3 separate regions of the Homo sapiens genome follow, and all the other regions are linked to region 3. The links are contacts of gene promoters, found by promoter capture Hi-C in blood cells and fetal thymus (Javierre and others, 2016). All regions are on one chromosome and are shown on one strand. Each heading gives the region's core, a stretch centred on a gene start or on the middle of the fragment in contact. The rest is flanking DNA. Distances are from core to core; before and after follow the strand shown.

Evidence for each region. Contacts are between HindIII fragments. The CHiCAGO score rates a contact against its expected background, and 5 or more counts as called.
Region 1: a contact is called between the fragment with the promoter of STS here and the fragment with the promoter of WWC3 in region 3, in 2 of 17 cell types (activated CD4 T cells and total CD8 T cells). The highest score is 5.8, in activated CD4 T cells.
Region 2: a contact is called between a fragment that was not itself captured here and the fragment with the promoter of WWC3 in region 3, in 1 of 17 cell types (total CD8 T cells). The highest score is 5.3, in total CD8 T cells.

What each region holds. Positions count from the first base shown.
Region 1 is chrX:7,146,034-7,148,987 of GRCh38, reverse strand. It overlaps STS (steroid sulfatase), which reads right to left and starts at 1,276. Exons shown (of 11, transcript NM_001320752.2): 1 at 905-1,276. PUDP (pseudouridine 5'-phosphatase) reads left to right here and starts at 835. Exons shown (of 4, transcript NM_012080.5): 1 at 835-935. The coding sequence starts at 875. It overlaps MIR4767 (microRNA 4767), which reads right to left and starts at 1,128; the gene lies at 1,051-1,128. RefSeq lists an enhancer at 356-405 and a silencer at 596-1,315. The HindIII fragment of the contact is 8,353 bases long and covers 1-2,491 here.
Region 2 is chrX:7,930,181-7,933,298 of GRCh38, reverse strand. All of the region lies in intron 1 of LOC107985675 (a long non-coding RNA gene), which reads right to left. Among named protein-coding and RNA genes, the nearest start is that of PNPLA4, 4.3 kb to the right of the region's middle. The HindIII fragment of the contact is 876 bases long and covers 875-1,750 here.
Region 3 is chrX:10,013,816-10,016,691 of GRCh38, reverse strand. It overlaps WWC3 (WWC family member 3), which reads right to left and starts at 1,438. Exons shown (of 24, transcript NM_015691.5): 1 at 1,019-1,438; 2 at 834-1,016. The coding sequence starts at 1,113. RefSeq lists silencers at 1,466-1,525, 1,566-1,735 and enhancers at 1,556-2,439, 2,440-2,876. The HindIII fragment of the contact is 8,733 bases long and covers 1-2,876 here.

The DNA.
Region 1 (2,954 bases), core at 27-2,526, 2.9 Mb after region 3:
AAAGTATTTTTTTGACGATGGCAAACGGGAAAAAAAAAAAAGAAAGCTGTTTAGGTGGCATTTGAAAAGTTAAAAAAGAAAGAAAACTCAGAGCAGCCCAAAAGACAGATGATACCTAAGAAGGCACAACCAGCAAGACATGTTGACTGTTAGTATTATTTCAGCATCCTCCTTGAGCAGCTTGGCTTTGCTCTGGGACAATGCACCAGCCTGGGATGCTCAGAGATGCAGGCACGGAGGTTGTGCAGCCTCTCCGCACACTGCGCATGCGCGGCTGCCGGTTCAAGTCGCGGTCCAGGACCGCAAGGAGGCGGGCAAGCGAAACTGAGAAAAACCCACCCACGGTCCAGGGACTGGGGGCTCGGGCGAACCCACCCAGGGACCTCCTGACCAAGGCCATTTGTCTGCAACCTGATGGCTAGAAGTGATACCACCCTGAGCATCTTCAATCCCCTTTCCCCACTCTACAGCCCCTTGTACTGTCCCTCCTTCCTCATTCACACCCCTGATCCAAACTCAAGCACTGAATTTGTCCCCAGACGAGGGCCTCGGCTCTGCGCGGCCGCTGGCTGAGTAGCTTGGCCCGATTCCGGGTGTGAAGTGAGGAGGAATTGATGCGGGTAAACATACAGCGCCGGCCCGCGCCGCATCCCGGGTCTGCAGCTACAGCTGCGGCGAAAGCCCAAGGTGCGCGTGCGCGGAGCGCCACTAGGCAGCCCAGGACGCGCGGGCTCGGAGCCGGGCGAGGGGCCGCGGAAGGCGCGTGCGCAGAGCGACCCCGGGCGCGCGAGAAGGTCCTCAGTGCGCGTGCGCGGGGCGGGCGGGTGCGCGCGCACTTCCTCCTCGCCCCCACCCAGACCCAGAAGGCGCCACCATGGCGGCGCCCCCGCAGCCCGTCACCCACCTCATCTTTGACATGGACGGACTTCTTCTGGGTGGGTAGTGTGCAGCCGCCGCCTCCAGTAAGGGCGGTCTTGTGTGGGCGTGGGGACGGTCGGCGCGGGGTACGTCACGGCCTGGGGGCCGCGGCGGGGCGGTGTTCATGCAGGGACGCTCGGGCTCCCGCGCGCTCTGCCCCCGGCTGGCCCCGAAGTCGGGCGGCGGCCAGGAGCGCCCGCGGGCCCATGTCCGGGCTGGCGGGCGCGCGTGGCCGCGGCGTCTACGCGGCCCCAGCACCCGCTTCCGGTCGGCGGCCCGCGCGTGGGGCCGGAGCACGTGGGAGCAGTCCCTGGGGTCCACCGGGCGGGCGCGCGGCTCCGCGTCCTCTCCTCAGAGCGAGGCGCGGCGGGACCTCCGCGCTCTCTTTTCGGTTACGCATGCGTGCGACCTTGAGCGGTGCCCAGCCTCAGCTTCCCCGTCTGCAAAGTAGCCTGGAGGATACTTGCCTGCCTGCTCCAAGGTTGCTGCTGTGGGCGCACTTTGATGGTAGCATCCTGCATGGTAGCGGTTCTCTACCTGGCGGTTTTGCAGCCCTGAGGGCATCTGGCAATGGCGATGTCAGGAGACATTTTGGCTGTCACAGCTGGCGAGGAGTGATGGGGTCACTGGCATCTAGTGGAGTCCAGACCAGTGATACTGTTAAACTTCCCGCAGTGCACAGGAGTGCCCTATGCAACCATAAGGAATTATCCCGCGCCGTCAACAGTGTAGAGGCACAGAAGGTCCGTCAAGTGGCCTGGCTGCCTAGGGTGACCAGCACCGGGGACATCACCTGTGGGCTACTTGTAAATGTAGAAGCTGGGGCCCCACCCTACCCCTGCCCAATCAGAATCTGCATTTTAAGCGCGTGAACGTTTGAGAACAGCTGCTCTATCAATCCGAGGCATTAAGAAACCCTTGGCAGTGTACTAAGGTAGTCAGTCTTAGCACATGTGAACTTCACCAGCCAAGAGGAATTCAAGTAGAATTCAAAGAATAAAACCCTGTTTTTAACTCAAGACAGAACTATGCTGAGCTCTACCGAAAGCCTTGACACAGTTAACACTATGACACATAATCACCAGGAGGCTTCATATATCTATAAACATGTCTGCATACTCTTTGTAGACAGCTGACCTGCTTGGTTACGTATATCATTCCTTCATTTCAAAACCCTGCAAGTTAGGAGGAAGTATTTGCATGTCACTAATTAAAAAAAAAAAAAAAAAAAAAACCCTGCAGCTCAGAGAGGTAAAGCTACTTGCCCAAGGTCACACAGCTAATAAGCCAAGCTGAGAAACGATTCTGGATTGATCCAGTTCTAAATATAAATGATGTTGAGCTCATCTTAAATTGTGAATGTGACCTTGTTTCTGCTCATCATATTGCTGGGTAATTCCCTAGCAGTGTTTCCTTTTAAAAAGGCATGCAGAAACCATTCTCTTCATTTTATGAACACAGAGGTGTAAACTGATGAATTCCAAAGGAAAAAAAAAATCCCCGTAGAGGTCACTAATTGGAGCCAACGGTGTATGCAGCTACTAAATTTGAAATGACTCAATTTCAGAAAGCTTGTGGGATACATAGGTATAGTTTGTAGACATGAATTTTCCTACTCCGGTGGTCAAAAAGTTAAATTGTCAAATAAATTTCTTATCCTCTAATAAAGGTCCAGAGAACCTGTTCTGGGAGTCTCATGAATTTTAATACCAAACAAGATGTCTCATTAAAATTAAATTTATTAAACTTCTAAATGAGCTTGGTGCCTAATTCTGATTCTAGATTCACACATAGCCATGCCCTGAAGTGATGAATGTGACTTAAATGGCATTACAAGCATTGACCTCACATTGTTACCCAATCCTCTGATCTAGTCAGATAACCAAGAATTAGTGCTATTTGGAAAAATAAGCCCTGCTTCTTTTTATTCCCCCCCCTCATTTTCTGCCCATTTCCTCCTTTCCTGCCCTACCTCTTCTTTGAGGTGGTAAGGCCTTGCAAAACTTTCTTGGAAATATACCTTTGTTTATCCCATT
Region 2 (3,118 bases), core at 63-2,562, 2.1 Mb after region 3:
AAGCTCCACCTCCCGGGTTCAAGTGATTCTCCTGCCTCAGCCTCCTGAGTAGCTGGGATTATAGACACGCGCTACCACGCCCAACTAATTTTGTATTTTTAGTAGAGACGGGGTTTCTCCATGTTGGTCAGGCTGGTCTCGAACTCCCAACCTCAGGTGATCTACCTGCCTCGGCCTCCCAAAGTGCTGGGATTATAGCTGTAAGCCACCACGCCCGGCCCATATATTTCTATCTTTTAACATTGTACAAGTGATATGAGACAATGTATATAAAGGACTGGCATGGAGTGGGCAGACAATAAGTGTAGTAAATATTAATAATAAGATTCTAATAATAGGAGTGGGTGCTCAGGAAAGCAAGGCATTTTACTAACAAAGAATAGACCAAAATCTTTATTTTGTCTCTTTGAAATGAGGTGATTAGATAATTAAATGTTTTAGTAGTTACGGTGTTCATTTTGATAACAGCACTGGTAATGTCTAGATCTTGTACTCCAAATTAAAATACAGTATTTTGGTGAATTTGATGGAGCATAAGGCACTGAAGCTGTCCACCTGTCACCCAACAATATTACTTACTTGATATTGATATTATTTCCTCAGTAATCGGCTCCATGATAAGAAAAATATTTGAAGGCTAGAAAGGACTATTTATGTCTGAACAATTGGTGGACCCCTAGCAGCCATGTCCACTGTACAGTTGCTTTGCGATGAAGTACACAGAGCAGAGAATACCAGTTTTCTTTGACTGGGATTTTAAAAAATATTTAGGATTATGTGTACATTTGGTACCACATACTCACCACCTGGCTATCAAGGATCTGAACCCGTTTTCTATAAAATATATCGTTTAAGTATAAGAACTCTGAAAGCTTGCCTACTTTACTATCTCTGTTTTTCAGCTCAATGCATAATATTACATTTGGAACCCTTCACATATTAAATTAAAATGAAGTTTATAAAATAAATGTCACATTTTTAAAATGTTTCTCTTTAATAGAAATAGTCTGATATTTAGTTTCAACACCATGTTAAAAGATCTAAAGATTATCATATATTATCAGATATACTGAGTCATAAATAAATTATATTTCCAAAGGATGGCTATTTTGAATTATGTTTTCAGATTGCTATGGTCTGAATGTTTGTGTCCCATCCCAAAAATGTATTTGTTGAATCCTATCCCCCACAGTGATGGTGTTAGGATGTGCGGTCTTTGGGAGGGGAGGAGGTCCTGAAGGTGGAGCCTCATGAATGGGTTTAGTGCCCTTATCAAAGTGGCCCCAGAGAGCTCCCTTGCCCCTTCCACCATGTGAGGACAGGGCAAAAAGGTGCCATCTATGAATCAGGAAATAGGACCTCAACACACACCATCTGCTAGTGACTTATCTTGGAATGTTCATCTTCTAGATCTGTGAGAAACACATTTCTATTGTTCATAAGCCACCCGGTTTTGGGTATTTTGTTATAGCAGTCTGAACAGACTAAAACACAGATGCTATCAAAGAAAAGTCTTATTTTGTTTTATATAAATATGTAAACATATATATAACAGAAATATGTAATAATGTAATATATATAATATGGTATATATATAAAATTCATATTTTTTGAAAGTATATTACATTTAGAAAGAATTTACCCAGTGTTCCTTTAAGTAGTCAGTTTTTGTAGCATATTTCTAATGGAAAACAGCCATGCGCAATGTAAAAAGCACTTACATTAGTAAGAACGGTTTGGTTTGCAAGCTTTAGAAACTCAATGCTAACTAACTTAACAAATAGAAAAGGGTAGGTGTAGTGGGGAAAGCGAGTCAGGAATATAAAATATATTGTTTATGCATGAAACCTTTGAAAGCTTACCGGCTCTACCTTATCTAGAACACCAGTTACAAGCACTGTAATTAAGGAATTCTAATACGATAACAGAAATACTCAGGAAATCCTTACCATCTCTATTTTTCAGTTCAATGTATAATATTACATTTGCATCCACAGGCTCAAGAGGGGCAACCACACCTAGGTGCCTGTCTGTGTCTGTCTGTCTGTCTGTCTGTCTCTCTCTCTCTACCTCATTCTCAGCTCTGGATCCCTCTAAGCTGCCTCTGTTTTCAGGCTGGCTCCCTCCACATAGTGGCATTCACACATGACCTTCTTCATCTATTCCCTCACTGTGTTCCTAGAGATGGTGATCTATAGGAAGGAAGTAGCCCCTCTTTCTATGGTTTCGGATGGGCAGTTCTACTCCAAGATTGCAAAAGTTCCTTTCTCTGAACTCCATGGTGGTCTCAAGACAAGATATTGCTTAAACTAGGCACAGAGGGCATGTTATCATGAGTATCACTTTGAAGCCCCCATGGAAAGGGCAGTGCTCCAGCAGTGTTGCCACACTCCCCTGAAATTAAAGTGCATGTATCTAAGCTCCACAGCTCATCGGGATCAGTTTGCAAGATTTGGGGAGGAAGTGACAAAGAAGAGCAGTTATCAAGCAGGAGGCAGAATAAGCAAAGCATATTGAATACACGACAAGAGATTTGTTTTTTTAAAAAACCAAAGCACTTGTAACGTTGACCGACAAGAGGTGTTAAGATGCCTGCCGGGCACAGTGGCTCACGCCTGTAATTCCAACACTTTGGGAGGCCGAGGCGGGCAGATCACCTGAGGTCAGAAGTTCGAGACCAGCCTGACCAACATGGAGAAACCCCGTCTCTATTAAAAATACAAAATTAGCAGGGCGTGGTGGCACATGCCTGTAATCCCAGCTACTCGGGAGGCTGAGGCAGGAGAATCGCTTAAACCCGGGAGGCGGAGGTTGCGGTGAGCTGAGATGGCGCCATTGCACTCTAGCCTGGGCAACAAGAGCAAAACTCTGTCTCAAAAAAAAAAAAAAAATGCCAAGACTGGAAAATGAAATAACACCACAAGGAGAGTAGACTGAAAGAACTGATTAGACTCAAAGATTCTGAGATATGGTCCTTTCCCTGGAGCAGAGGTGTGGACAAGCAACACTTACCCATGTCCATTTCTCCTCCCTTATGGGATACAGGATAAAATCTCCTGAGAGGAAGCACTGGAGAGGAAAAGGAGCCATCAAGCTGGGGCATTTTGTTTCTGTGCTG
Region 3 (2,876 bases), core at 189-2,688:
AGGCTATTTCAAACAGTTTTAACTCACGAGTTTTAAGGCGCTAAAGAGCAACTAGAGTTTGGGAACAGACTTCTCCAACTCCAAAAGGGTTGGGAATCCCTCAAGGGCCCGTCTGACATCAGGTTTTGGATGGAAACCAGCCTGAACCCGCCAGACAGGGAACCCGCACCCCAAAGCTGGGGCGCACGTTTGTGATCCAAGGTGACAGCTCATCTCGCCACCGCGGGGCTGGGGACACCTGCAGAACCAGGGCCGGGGCAGTGGGCCGCAGACGCCCGGGACCGGGATGGGCGAGGCTGCCGCAGAGAAAGGAAAAGAGGGCCATCTGTCAGCCCCAGGAGAGGAAATTCCAGGAGCCCAGTTCCCAGGCGCCGGACAGCGGGTGACGTGAGGGAACCGAATGAGAGGGTCCGCCCAGCGGCGGGGGACCTGTAGGCGGCCGGCCTCGGCGCTCAGAGGGCTCGAGGCCTGGAGAAGGGGCACCTCCATTCTTGGTCAGAGCCCTGGGAGTCGGGGTATTGGGAGGGTGGATCCTCTCCCGGACCCCCGGAACCAAAGATCTTCACCCAGCCCCGAGGGCCTCCTGGTGTCTCCGATCCTCTCCCTGGGCCCAAGGGATGGGGGCGCCTCGATCGTAGCCTGGACCGGAGCACTCCAGGGAGTCCCCTGGTTCCGGGGATGGAGGCGCTCCGAGCTCTGCCCGGGCCCGGGGGCTCTCGGCGGCGGCCCCGCGCTGGGCGGGGCGTGTCCCCAGCGCATCCGCGGTGGCGCCGGCCGGCGGCCCGGGTCGTAGCGCCCGCGCCGGGTCTGGCGCCCCCAGCCGGCCCGCTTACCGGTCGCGGGGGTCGATCCACGACGTCTGGCGCGTGTTGTGGTCAATGTAAAAGACGCGACCGTCGTAGTCTCGCGCCTCCTCCCAGCCGGCGGGCAGCGGCAGCTCGGCGCTCTCCCGGGCCCGCGGCGGCGGCGCGGAAGGAGCTGGGGGCGTGGGGACCGCGGCGGGGGGCGCCGGCGGCGCGGTTCCCGCTGGGGCTGCGCAGAAGGCGGCGGCTCCCGCGGGGCCTCGCGCGGCTGTCCCCGCCGTCGCCGCCGGCCGCCGCTCAGCCAAGGCATGACGGCGCGGGCCCCGCCGCCGCCCGGCCGCCCCGCGCGCGCCGCCTCCTCCGCCAGCACTAAGGCCCGGCGCCCGGGGCGCGGGGGCGGCCGCGGGGAGCCGCCCGCCGCTCCTGGCGCATCCTCCGCCCGGCGCCCGTGCACCGGCGTCCGCCCGCCCGCCCTAGCAAGCCGCTGCCCGCGCCGCCCACTCCGTTCAGGTAGCCCGGGTGGCCGCCGCGCGCGAAGTCACAGCCCGGGAGCCGCCGCCGCCGCCGCCGCCGCTGCCGGCCGCCCCTCCGTTCCCGCGGCGCGCCCGGCCATCTTCGTTCCTCGGCGCGGCCCGGGCGAGCAGGGGCAGGGCGTTCGCAGGCCCCGCCTCCGGCCGTCCCGCCCCGTTCTCACCCAGGCCCCGCGGCTCCTCCCACGCCGGCGGCTCCACCCACGCCGGCTGCTCCTCCCGAATCTCCCACGGAGGCTCCCGCTCCTCCCGCCGCCTCTGCTTTTCCACCCACTCCCGCTGCTCCGCCTCCCCCGGCCCCGCGTCCTCCGCGCCTCTCCGTCGCCGGCTGCTCCGCCCCCAGTCTCCCTCGGGGTCCTCCTCGGCGCTCGGCTCCTCGACCCCACCCCCACCCCTCCGCTTGCTCCTCCCCCTCCGCCGTCCTCCCTCTCCGCGCGCTCCTCGCTCTCTCCCTCCCGCTCCGCCACCTTCCTCCGGCCTCGGGAAACCGCATGGAGGCCAGGATGGGCGCCGCCGCGTCAGTCCGCCCCCGGGCCCCCGCGTAGAGGAAGGCGGGCGGGGAGGACGACGCCCTACCCGGACTGCGGGCGCGGCCTGCCTGGGGTGACTCCTCGGGCGCAAACAATTCCCGAGAGAGCGGGCAGTGCCCTCCCTTCACCCGCTCCCGGGCTCTGGCTGTCTGGAGACCCTCTGCGCACTTGGCGGGAGGCTGCGCCCTCGGTCTCCCACACAACCCGTCTGGTCCCGCGAAGGTGGGAAAAGCCCCTGAAGGCGGGGCCGAGGGAGCTGAGGAGCTGGGGGAGCCCGCGGCCGGTCCTCTCGGGCGGCGCAGGGAGGACGCCTCTGGAAGCGGGCAGCTGGGCAGGTGGCCACTTTGCGTCCCCGCCAGGACAGCCCTAGAAGGGCTAACCTGGGGGCCCACACTAGGCGGGAGTTCCTTGACCTTCCCTGAGCGCTTCATCCGGTTTGTGGGGTCTGATCGTTTGAGCGGAGACCCAAGTAGACCATTGCTGGGGAGGAAGCCGGGTCAACTCCTAAAACTTTCAGCCTAGACGGGAACTTCTGTTTCACTGGCTCCCAGCTGGGGAAGCTGAAGCTCCAGAGTTGGGGCTGTGTCTTGCTCTAAATCTCCCACCTACTTCGTGCCCCAGACCCACAGCCGCAACACGTTATGCCAGGAAATGCAGGACAGTATCAGGGAGATTTTTAAACAGTTACAGTGATACAAAAATATCTGGTAGAGCCTGATTGAAATCCAGATACACAGGGGAAGAGACTGGAGGAAAATGTCCTGAAATGCTCACAAGAGTTTGCATTCCTTTGGCGGGATTTTTAAAAATGATTTGCCTTCCAATTTTTTGTAAAATGGTAATATTACTTTTATGAGGGGAAAGGTTGTTTTAAAAAAGAAGAATGGGCCGGGCGCGGTGGCTCACGCTTGTAATCCTAGCACTTTGGGAGGCCCAGGCGGGCGGATCACGAGGTCAGGAGTTCGAGACGAGCCTGGCCAGCATGGTGAAATCCCCGTCTCTACTAAAAATAC